Regions from separate parts of the Homo sapiens genome. Here regions 1, 2 and 4 are each linked to region 3. Evidence: promoter capture Hi-C in 16 types of primary human blood cells and fetal thymus (Javierre and others, 2016). All regions are on one chromosome and are shown on one strand. The core of a region is centred on a gene start or on the middle of the fragment in contact, and the rest is flanking DNA. Distances in the headings are between cores, read along the strand shown.

The links. The method cuts DNA at HindIII sites, captures the fragments that hold promoters and counts their contacts. A CHiCAGO score of 5 or more calls a contact.
Region 1: a contact is called between a fragment that was not itself captured here and the fragment with the promoter of NCOA7-AS1 in region 3, in 4 of 17 cell types (M1 macrophages, M2 macrophages, M0 macrophages and 1 more). The highest score is 13.8, in M1 macrophages.
Region 2: a contact is called between a fragment that was not itself captured here and the fragment with the promoter of NCOA7-AS1 in region 3, in 3 of 17 cell types (M2 macrophages, M0 macrophages and M1 macrophages). The highest score is 7.2, in M2 macrophages.
Region 4: a fragment that was not itself captured here is called in contact with the fragment with the promoter of NCOA7-AS1 in region 3 in 7 of 17 cell types (fetal thymus, M1 macrophages, naive CD8 T cells and 4 more); the score reaches 5.8 in fetal thymus.

Annotation. Positions count from the first base shown.
Region 1 is chr6:125,194,968-125,197,667 of GRCh38, reverse strand. All of the region lies in intron 1 of TPD52L1 (TPD52 like 1), which reads right to left. All of the region lies in intron 1 of LOC100126584 (a long non-coding RNA gene), which reads left to right. Among named protein-coding and RNA genes, the nearest start is that of TPD52L1, 43 kb to the right of the region's middle. The HindIII fragment of the contact is 188 bases long and covers 1,277-1,464 here.
Region 2 is chr6:125,164,416-125,167,115 of GRCh38, reverse strand. All of the region lies in intron 1 of TPD52L1 (TPD52 like 1), which reads right to left. Among named protein-coding and RNA genes, the nearest start is that of TPD52L1, 12 kb to the right of the region's middle. The HindIII fragment of the contact is 679 bases long and covers 1,069-1,747 here.
Region 3 is chr6:125,817,466-125,820,165 of GRCh38, reverse strand. It overlaps NCOA7-AS1 (NCOA7 antisense RNA 1), which reads left to right and starts at 1,308. Exons shown (of 3, transcript NR_126386.1): 1 at 1,308-1,356. All of the region lies in intron 2 of NCOA7 (nuclear receptor coactivator 7), which reads right to left. RefSeq lists an enhancer at 1,582-2,083. The HindIII fragment of the contact is 4,548 bases long and covers 1-2,700 here.
Region 4 is chr6:125,264,710-125,267,409 of GRCh38, reverse strand. No RefSeq gene overlaps it. Among named protein-coding and RNA genes, the nearest start is that of HDDC2, 36 kb to the left of the region's middle. The HindIII fragment of the contact is 1,857 bases long and covers 515-2,371 here.

The sequences.
Region 1 (2,700 bases), core at 121-2,620, 620 kb after region 3:
GTACTTTATATTATATTCCACCTTGGGTGAAAAATAGACTTTGCTTAAAAAAAAATCCTTCTGACTGTTCTTCCTCTTAGAGTTCTAAACTCTGCACTTTTCAAAAGAGTCTGTTCTTTTGGGCCTAGCAAGCAGAAAGAGGAGAGTGTCTCTTGATCTGGGGGCAAACATTTCCCTAAAATTCTCCTGGTAGAAAAAGAACTCAAAATAGAAGTGAAAATGAGTTGCCGAAAAATAAGAAAAGTTATATTTCTTGCCCTTCTGAGTTTGTGAACTCACTGGATACCTGCTTGATATTGAACTAGATATGTGGTGGATATGTGCAGATTAGAACTATTAAATTAGATTATAGAGAGAACAGACCTACCAAGATGAAAACGTAAAATCATTCAAGGGATTGGAAGGTCAACATGATAACACATAAAACAGATTTTCATCTGGAAAAGGGACATCTCTAGAGACTGTTCATACAAGGAGGCTTATTCAAAGAGAAAGGACAGCCAGCTCTTTTCTCAGCAAGCAAGAAGGCTGGGCTAAAATTTCAGCAAGCATGATTATGAGTCTGTTTTAGGGGATACTTTCAGGTTATAAATTAAATGTAGCTCTCCGTGGTATAGAAAAGCTTGGGAAAAATCTTTTCTGACAACCCCAGTGGGAGATTCAGGACATGATTATTCTGATGAAAGGCACAGATCCGGCCAGATGTCTCTGAGTAGTTTTTCTTTTATTTTCTTTTTCTTCCTGCCTAATGATCTAGGAATATGACTACACTTTTGATACTATGGGAGAGGAATTCCAATGCTGGATCTGCAACTAATTGGCTCTGAGCAAGATTCTTATTCACGCTCACCTCCATACCTCATGTATAAATAAGGGTGACAGCATGTCATACTTATAAGTCCGTAGACACCATGGTGATGAGTGAGGTGGAGAGTCTAAGAATAGTCTGATATCAAATACAGGGATGTGAGGAAAAAAGAAAGTTCTATTTTCAAGGAAATTTGCTACACAGTTTGAACAGAATCTGATAAACACCAAAGTATATATTACAGATAAAATAAGCATTTCTTTGCAAGTTATTAAATGTCATGTGCTTTATATAAGCTAACAGAAAACATAATTCAATAACTTTTTAATGTAGTCCATGTCTTAAAAATAATTTGGCGATCATTGGTCTTGCGTTGAGACAGGAGCCACGACAATAATTATTTAGACTTTTTTGCATTTGCAGGGCACATGCCAAAAGTTGTTTATACATTACAACTATAGTTAAGCTTTTACATTAATGAAGCAGTAATTAAAACTTTGGAACTGCCCCAGGTGTTTCTGTGGCTAATGTAAGCTCATGCTTGATCTTATTTTCTCTCTGTGGCAGTCACAAGGCTTAAGGATATGGGATGAGAGTTTAAAAGAAAATATAAACAATTTTAAAAACAGCTACAACTTTGGAAGCTACAGAAAGCTTATCTTTCCTTGTTTTCCTGAGTCTTTGATGATTAATACATTTAGAGCCAAATTTAAGGGCATCACTCAAGTCCTACTGAATTAGAATCTTTGAGGTTAACCTTGCACATCTGTGTTTTGTTAATCCCCACTGGTGACACTGATGGGCAGCCAATGTCAAAACCCACTGATTTTAAATAATATAGTATGATGTAAGGGGCATTACTGTGAGCTCAGCACTATTCTAGGTCCTGGAGATACAATGATTATCAGAGCAGACAGGGCCTCTGCTCTCCTGAAGCTTAAGAGATGCATATGATGAGCAAGTGGGCAACAACTGGCCTGGCTGTGATAGCGCGAACAGGGCACTGTGATGGAGTGACTGGAGACAGGCTTTGTCACCATGCAAAACCAACAATGGTCTGAGAAGTTGCAGAAAGCCTCTCTAAGATGGGTCAGTGCACTTGGCCTTAAGAAGGAGTTGCTATGTGACATTCCAGAATAAAAGAGATTTCCAGGGAGAGGTAACAGCTAGGTCAGATGCCCTAAGGGTAAAACCTGCTTGGTACCTCAAAGGATCAAAAAGATGCCTGTTGACTGGACCAAGACAACAATGCAATTTGTTCAGTATCATCAGAGAATTTCACGTAAGTGCCTTTTCCATAGATCTAAAATTTACTTAATCTTATACCACTCAAAAATTTACTCATTTTATATAAAACCTTTCTCTCATGGATGGGTGACACAAAATGCAGAAGACATGCTTCTTACTCTCAAAGGACTTAGCGGTCCACAATGTACCCAGTGTGAAAATAAATATGATTTAAAACCTGTTGGAACCCTGAAGACACTTTAAGCCTTGAGAGAGATGTGATTGTGATCTGAGCCACACAGGGTTGTGACTTCTGTTTCTCAGATTATAGAACAACTTGTTTCTTATTGTTCTTGTTCTGTACAGTGACTAGAGAGACTCAAACAACAACAGGGACAAAAACCTGCTGCCATCTTAATGACCCTTGTTACAGATTAACTTCCCCTTTCTTGTCCTGCTTTGCTTAGGCCAGTTGACAGAAAACCCATAACCACTATACCCTCTGTAACAAATGTTATATGTATCCTTCCCAAAAAGAAACACAGCCTATACAACCAATCAAATTGCTGCAATTGTGTGCCAACTTTGTCAGAAAAATGTTGTAATCCTGCTAAAAACTCCCTGGTCTCTGACTATATATAAATGAAACTTTAACTTCCCTACTT
Region 2 (2,700 bases), core at 159-2,658, 650 kb after region 3:
TTTTTAAAAATTATTATTTTTAGTAGAGACGAGGTCTTGCTATGTTGCCTGGGCTGGTCTTGAGCTCCTGGGTTCAAGCAGTCCTCCTGCCTCGGCCTCCAAAAGTGCTGGAATTACAGGCATGAGCCACCCTACCCAGCCCATAAGAGTTATTTTGAGCTGAAGGCATTTGAGTTCCCGAAATCCTTTATCTGACTAAAAGCAGAGGTTCCCAAAAGAACTCAGCTGTCACAAATTCCTCCCACTGGGAGCAACTCTTTCTTCTCTTCTAGACATTGTCACAAACTGTCATATCTCCCATCTATTCTCCTAAGGACCCATTTATCTTTTTTTTTTTTTTTTAAAGAAGTCATTTGCTCTCTCAATATTGCCTTTTCTCCACCTCCCTTTCCTGTAGTAAAATGATACAGAAAATCAAATCTCATCACTCCTTGGGGTATTCATTTCTTTCTATGACACCCTTGTGCAAGCAAAATTTAAAATAAATAACTTTGTAAGCTTTTTCTCCTGCTAGTCTGTCTGCTGTAAGTTTAATTCACAGGCTCCTAGGCACTTCACCTAAGAGGGTAGAAAAAAAGTTTTTCTTCCCCTCCAATGCTTATGAGAGCCTTCCAATCATTTTAAATAAACTTTACAGGTAGTGCAGGTATCTTGTAACTTCCTGTTGGAACCCTGGGATATCTAAAGAGGAATAACAGGAGCCAAGGTCTATACTTCTTCCCAGGGCTGACCTAACCCTTCAGGAAGAAAAACCATCTTTCCATGACGTCTTTATGTAGAAATGAGTCCATTTTGGAAAACAAAATGTTGGAAAATATTTATAGACAATGAGCTATTAGCTCTTTATGCAGAGAGAAAAATCAGTGAAAAACTACAAATATCCAACCATCAGAGACTTTAAAACTGAGAGATCTGAAGAGATCTCCTCCCACTACCCCCATCCCAAATTGGCTTTTTCTTTTGAATGAATCAGTTCTGCTTCCGTGAATATGCTTGGGAGATGGTTAAATGAATAAAACATATCCATGTAAACAAGTAATTATAATACTCATGAGGCAATAAAAAGCTTTCTTTTTTTGGGTACTCATTGAAATTAGTCCTTTCAGCCAACATCTAAAGGATACAAATCCTACTTTCTGGAAACAAGCACGCAGATCCTATGACTTATTTATTTTAAAATACTGAGATTACTGGGTATGGACGAACACCAAGTAGAATAACATATTTGAACCATTCCATATTTGAACTGACTTTTCCTAGCAGCTGGTGATAAAACTCTATACTGGTTCTAAGAATTACATCTCATGTGACTTTTACGGATCTTTTTAATCTTGAATCAGTTCTGCTTCCATGATCCTTGACAAGACGCTCTTGCTATTAATGGACAAAAGAAATGTCTAATTATAAGAAAAATGTATTTCCAAGGAGTTGAAGAGTTTTCCATATTTTAGATATATGTCAGGGAAACTGTAATTTGTATAAGATACAAATAACCATAGGTAAGTTTGGAGATGAGGTGTAACATATACATGCATTTTTCATGTGTGGTACATGATCTGGCTACAGCAAAGTGCTAGATTTTTGCCTTTTGAGAAAGAAGCAATATGTTGGTGACTAAGGGTATTCTTGGAGATTTGTGGTTTTATTCTGGGAACTTCACTTCCTCTGCATCAAAATGCATCACTTATAAACGATTCACACTGTGAGAAATTGCTTAAAATTCATCTTTCCTTGAGGACCCAAAGCTTCCTTTTAGCCATTTCAAATTCATTAAAATATTCTCCTGCCTTCCCTGGTACATTAACAATGCTTCTCAATTTAATGCATATATTTCAAATCATTACACTTTATTGCTTAAATATTCAATGAAAAGTAGGATGACAGATGTGAATATCCACATTTTGAGGTCACCTTTTATGTGTTCTTAACTGTGTAGTAACTCAGTAAATTTTTTCTTGTTTTACTTTTTTCTTTTAGTTTTATATATGTATACAAAACTATATATATACAGTTAAAATATATATATATATCTTTTTTTTAAGAGACAGGGGTTTTGCTTAGCCTGGGTTTGAACTCTGGAGCTCAAGTGGTCCCACTGCCTCAGCACCTTGATTAGCTGGGACTATAAGCACTCACCACCATGATCAGCTTAACTCAGTAAATTGAAGAAGTGACTGGCTTTACGGTGTTGTTGGGGACATTTCGCAACAGAAGTAATGGTGAACCTCTGCCTGCATGGAGAGCATGCCAGCTGATCAATGACTGAGGCAGATGCCCTCTTTTCTGCAGTTGCTGCTTCAAACCGTGAAAATTCAACACAGAGATGGCTAGAGTCGCTTAAGGACAAATCCATTGATGGCTCATTTTTTTCAACAGTTTTACTAGGTATTTTCTTAAAGTAGTTATTCTGCTAGTATGGTTGGGAGATGGTTAAATGAATAAAACATATTCGTGTAAACAAGTAATTATAATGTTCATGAGGCAATAAAATGCTTTCTTTTTTGGGGTACTCATTGAAATTAGCCCTTTCAGCCAGCATCTAAAGAATACAGATTCTACTTTCTGGAAAGAAGCATGCAGAGCCTGTGACTTTTATTTATTTTAAAGTCCTGAGATGACTGAATATGGATGAACACCAAGTGGAATAACATATCTGAACAGACTTTTGTTTGAGCTGGTGATAAAATTCTGTATTGGTTT
Region 3 (2,700 bases), core at 59-2,558:
TGGTGCTGGCTCCTACTGCTGCTCTGAAAGGCTGGGTTAAGAGGAAAGCGGAGGTGGGAGCAGCAGTTCTGCTTTTCATGACAACCAGGGAATAGGGGAGGTGGGAGCCAACAAGGGACCTACATGAACACCCAGTCTGTGTCTTCGTCTATATTACTCACTGTTTACTCCCAGGCTCTCACACCTTATCAGAGGGGAAAAGTAAACCTCCCACAAAACACCATTTGGTTCAACTACAGATGTATTTTGGATATCTTCAATCAACGCTTGATCCTGAAAAAATGCTTTCAAAGAATCTTCAACCAATGGCATACAAGGACCTACTCGGAAATCACAAAAGCCAAATAATGTCAAGCAAGTGTGTAAGAAGACAGCCCTGTATGGCAATACTAAAGAAAATTTTGCATTCTAACTACAAGGGGAAGGAAGAGTCAGCAGGGGTGTAACAAATGACACATGATAGTCACCCCAGAGGATAGCATAAATTGTACACAGTACAAATAGTACAGAAAGTATAATTTGCTTTAGTAATTCAGTTTTTCATTTGGTTTTCAAGACCTGTCAGGGATCAAGAAATTAATATAGACATATACTAATTTTGCATATATAAATTATTTGCAAAACCATTTGTGAAAAAGTTTCACAAATCATTCAATCTAGATTTAACAACTGTTATAAAACTATCCTGAAGCACCTGAAAACCAGTTGGACCAGGGTCAGAAAATCCAAAAAATTCATCAGGTCTTATCCAGAATTACTCTATCTAGTAGCAGTATTAATCCACCCCTCTATTTAGAGTTACACAGGCATATTTCAAGATAAATTATAAGAAAGGAAAGACTGGGTGACCCTCAAATCACTAATTTCAATCCAAAATTATTAAAATAGGGTATTTTAAACTCTATTTTGATGTTAAAGAGCGAAACGTCAACAAAACAGGTTTGGCAAAGGACTATTTATCAAACACAGTCACACAACGATTATGAAACCACATGATAAGATAGCACACAAAGAAAACATTGGCTATTTAACTACTCAGGAGGAAAAACTAGGTGTTCCTAGTTTTTCCTAGGTGGAAGGGGGAAGCAGGCTAAAAAGCAGTTTTTAGGGTTTCAGATATGTAATTGTGGCAGCAGGCACAGCATCAGGGTAAATCTTCCTTTTGACTTCCTCAGAACACCAGTTGAGATTTATGTAAGGTGGTATAATTTAGTTTAGAGAAAACTGAGATTGCATCAGTTTGGCCTCACCCTTGGCCTGACATTTTATCCTTCTCTCCAGAGATCTTGCTTGGACTGCCCTTAAGTACGCTGCTCCAGAGAACTCTGCTCTACATTGTCAGAAACCAGCTTTCAAGTAAGTTCTGTTGCTAGTTCCACATGGTAATTCCACAGTTAAGTCAGAAGGCATTTGAAAAGATGTATAACTTTGGATGGCTCTTTTCTGATTATAGGCTGAAGGGGGTTCTTTTCTCTTTGGTTTGCCTTTTGCTTTTAATAGCTTGACCATTTCTGGCTTCCACTGCATTGTAAGAGCTAAACTACAGGTTTGTCAGTCAGTGTTTCTCTCTCTGTCTCTTTCTCTCTCTCCCTGCTCCTACCCCCTCTTCTCTCCATTCTCCTCTCTCCATCTCTCTCATTTCCTAGTTACAAATCATGTTGTCTTACTGTCTTAAGAGCATCACTGATTTCATCCTTGTGCCACTGTCCCTATGCTCCCAAGATCACATTTCAGCATTTTAGGATACGTTTTTTGTTTCATTTTTAGAATACTTTTCAGAAGAGGTCATGATAAGCAAGACAATTTTACATTTCTGAGTTGAAAAAACTGTGCTGCTCTTCCAGAACAGTTTTGGTTTGTATTCTCAGTTTCAGGGGCTCCCCTGACTCTACATTTTAGGAACAAGAAGAGGTTAACATTGAGCAGGTTGTTCATGAACCGGCAGTTACCTTTACTACAGGAATCACTTTGGATTCAGGCTGAGAAGGCACTATAGCTCTTAAAATCACTATGTAGGGCAAGTGAAGAAGAAAGAAAAGAAAGAAGAAGAAAGTAAGGAGGAGGAGGAAGGAGGAGGTGGGAGAAAGAAGGAAGGGGGAGAAGCGGGAAGGGGGAGGAGGAAGAAGAGGAGGAAGAGGAGCAGGAAGAGGAGCAGGAAGAAAGGGAGGAGGTGAGGAAGGGAGACGGGGAGGAAGGGGAGGAGAAGCATGACCACCATTTTGACCTAAACTCATATCTTATCCACAAATAAATTCAAAATGGATCACAGACTTAAATATAAAACATAATGCTATAAAATTTTCAGAAAAGAAAAACAGGAGAGAATCTTCAGAACATACAGCTAGGCAAAGAGATCTTAGAATTCAGACCAAAAGCACAATTCATAAAAGGAGAAACTGATAAATTGAACCACATCAAAATTAAAACCTTTTGCTCTGCAACTCTGTTAACTGGATGAAAAGACAAACTACAGTCCGGGAGAAAATATTTGCAAATCACATATCCAACAAAAGACTAGAATGTGTACAATTCAACAGTAAAAACCTAAACAATTCAATTAGAAAATGGGCAAAAGATAGGAAAGGAGATGCCACTAAAGAAGATACACTATGGCTAATAATAAGCACATGAAAATGTTAAACTTCACTAACCATTAAGGAAATACAAATTAAAACCATAATGAGATATCACTACATACTT
Region 4 (2,700 bases), core at 194-2,693, 550 kb after region 3:
CTTGTGGTGGTGATACATGCTCTGGGGGAAATGACTGATGAAGCGCTTTGTAAAAAAAAGCATCTCTGTACTCAGCATTTTCATTTAAGCAATTTGTCAGTCTTCACATTCAAAGGTGAAATGGGATGATTTCTGTGAAAGACATGATTTTGTCATTTTTGGTTTGCTTTAATTTATATATATATATAATGGATGGATATGTATTATATATATTATATATATAATGTGTGTGTACATGAATATACCCTCTGGTGTGAACTGAAAGTCAAGCAGAAATGTAGCATAAAGAATTTTACCATGCTTAGAAGTTATCAAAAGTAGCCATAAGATTTTGCCAAATATTGTTATAGTTTGAAATTACATTTGAATGCTAGGTTTGAAGAAGTTGTTTCACATTTCATATTAAGTCACTTTTCAACCTTACCACCATCTTCCTTTATCACACTACTTCCACTCAAATTGAATACTAAGTGAGAGGAGGACGATGGGGTTGATGTTGAACAACTTTAAAGCTTACACGTAATTTTGGAACAATGAACAGTGACAGAAGAGCCGTGTAGATCCCTGGGTTCCCTCTACACTGGCCACTGTGAACGGCATGGCATATCATGAAGACACATCCTAAAGCATGCACTTTGTTCTGTTTGCTATGGTTCAAGAACAGATTTCTAACAAAATGTGTAATTTAGAGTAAGATATGCAGATTGCATTGCTAAAATGACCTGCCAATAGTTGTAATCTTTTTTTGAGACAGGGTCTCATCTCTCTGTCACCCAGGCTGGAAGGCAGTGGCAAGATCTCGGCTCACTGCAGCCTCTGCCTCCCTGGTTCGAGAGATTCTCCCACCTCAGCCTCCCAAGTAGCTGGGATTACAGGGATGTGCCATCAAGCACAGCTAATTTTTGCATTTTTAGTAAAGACGGGGTTTCACCGTGTTGGCCAGGCTGGTCTCGAACTCCTGACCTCAGTTGATCCACCCACCTTGGCCTCCCAAAGTTCTGGGATTACAGGCATGAGCCACCATGCCCAGCCAATAGTTGTAATCTTTATGTGATGTGAGTTGTGAGATAAAGTAGCACTGTAAATTTACAAATATGTTCATCATAGCAACTGTGTTTAAAATGTGGTAAATCGTTAAATTTCAGAATGGCTTACTTTTTTTAAAAGCTAGTTTGTTTTGTAATCACAATTGCATCAGAATTTTTGATAATTGAAAGAATTGACGCCTGAGCCACTCGGGGATTAGGCCTGCACAGTCAAAAATCCGATTCTAGGTTGGGAGTTGTGGCTCACGCCTGTAATCCCAACACTTTGGGAGGCCAGGGCAGGTGGATCACAAGGTCAGGAGTTCAAGACCAGCCTGGCCAAGATGGTAAAATCCTGTCTCTACTAAAAATACAAAAATTAGCCAGGCGTGGTGGTAGGTGCCTGTAATCCCAGCTACTCGGGAGGCTGAGGCAGAGAATTGCTTGAACCCAGGAGGCAGAGGTTGCAGTGAGCCAAGATTGCACCACTGCACTCCAACCTGGGCAACAGGGTGAGACTCAGTCTCAAAAAAATAAATAAATAAATAAAACAAAAATCTGATTCTAACTTTGGACACCCCCTAAACCTAACTACCAACAGCTACTGTTGACCATAAGCCTTGTTGATAACATAAATGGCCAATTAACACATATTTTTATGTTATATGCATTACATGTGGTATTCTTACAATAAAGTAAGCTCTGGAAACAAAATGTTAAAAGAAAAACAACAGAGATAATATATGTACTATTCATTAAGTGGAAGCAGATGATGATAAAGGTCTTTATCCTCATTGTCTTCATGTTGAGTAGGCTGCAGAAGGGGAGAGGTTGGTATCACTGTTTCAAGGGGTGCCAGAGGCAGAAGAAAATCTGCACATAAGTGGACCCTCACAGTTCAAACTCCTGTTGTTCAAGGGTCAACTGTACATTTTCTGTGGAGGTATCCTTTCATACACACATGGTGTTGACCTGAAGTCATTTTGGTTTGTTAGTAAAAGGTTATGTCCATTGTGTGCAATTACTTTTTAGGACTTGTGAAACACTTTAAACTACTGCTTGTGAACTGAGCCTCACTAGATGTAATTGAGAAGCTCAGCAATCAGTCCCATCAGGATGATCTTGCACACCCATGGTGAGGGAGGACCAGGCAGCTCTTAGTGATGCTCCTGAAGCTAAGAGTAGGCTCACTGCCTAAACTAGGTAAGACTGCCCACCTACCAACAAGTGTTTGATTTATCTAATCTGAGTTATTCACACACATTTTATGACAAAAATAAAAAATGCTACTTATGCCATGGCCATTATGAATATCACTTCTAGGTCAGAGTGAATAATGAAAAGCTTTTAGATGAATAGAGATGATGTGCATAAGATTCTTACCAAACTAATGAAATCAGAATTTTGATGAATGGAATAAAATAAATAGCTAAAATGTGTTGGAAGCTTTAAGATATTACCACAAGTTTTCTTGATTGTTTTTCTATCCAATTCTAATATTGTGTTTTCAGATTATAAGGCTGAGACTATGGTGTGCAGAAATTGGTTGGTGAACGGAGATATTTGTTTAAAGTACCATAACTTTATCTAATACAATGCGGTGTGCTGAATATGGTAAAAAAAGAAGGTGGCAGGGAGTTTTCACAAGTTAGCCACTTCACACTCAACAGGCAGC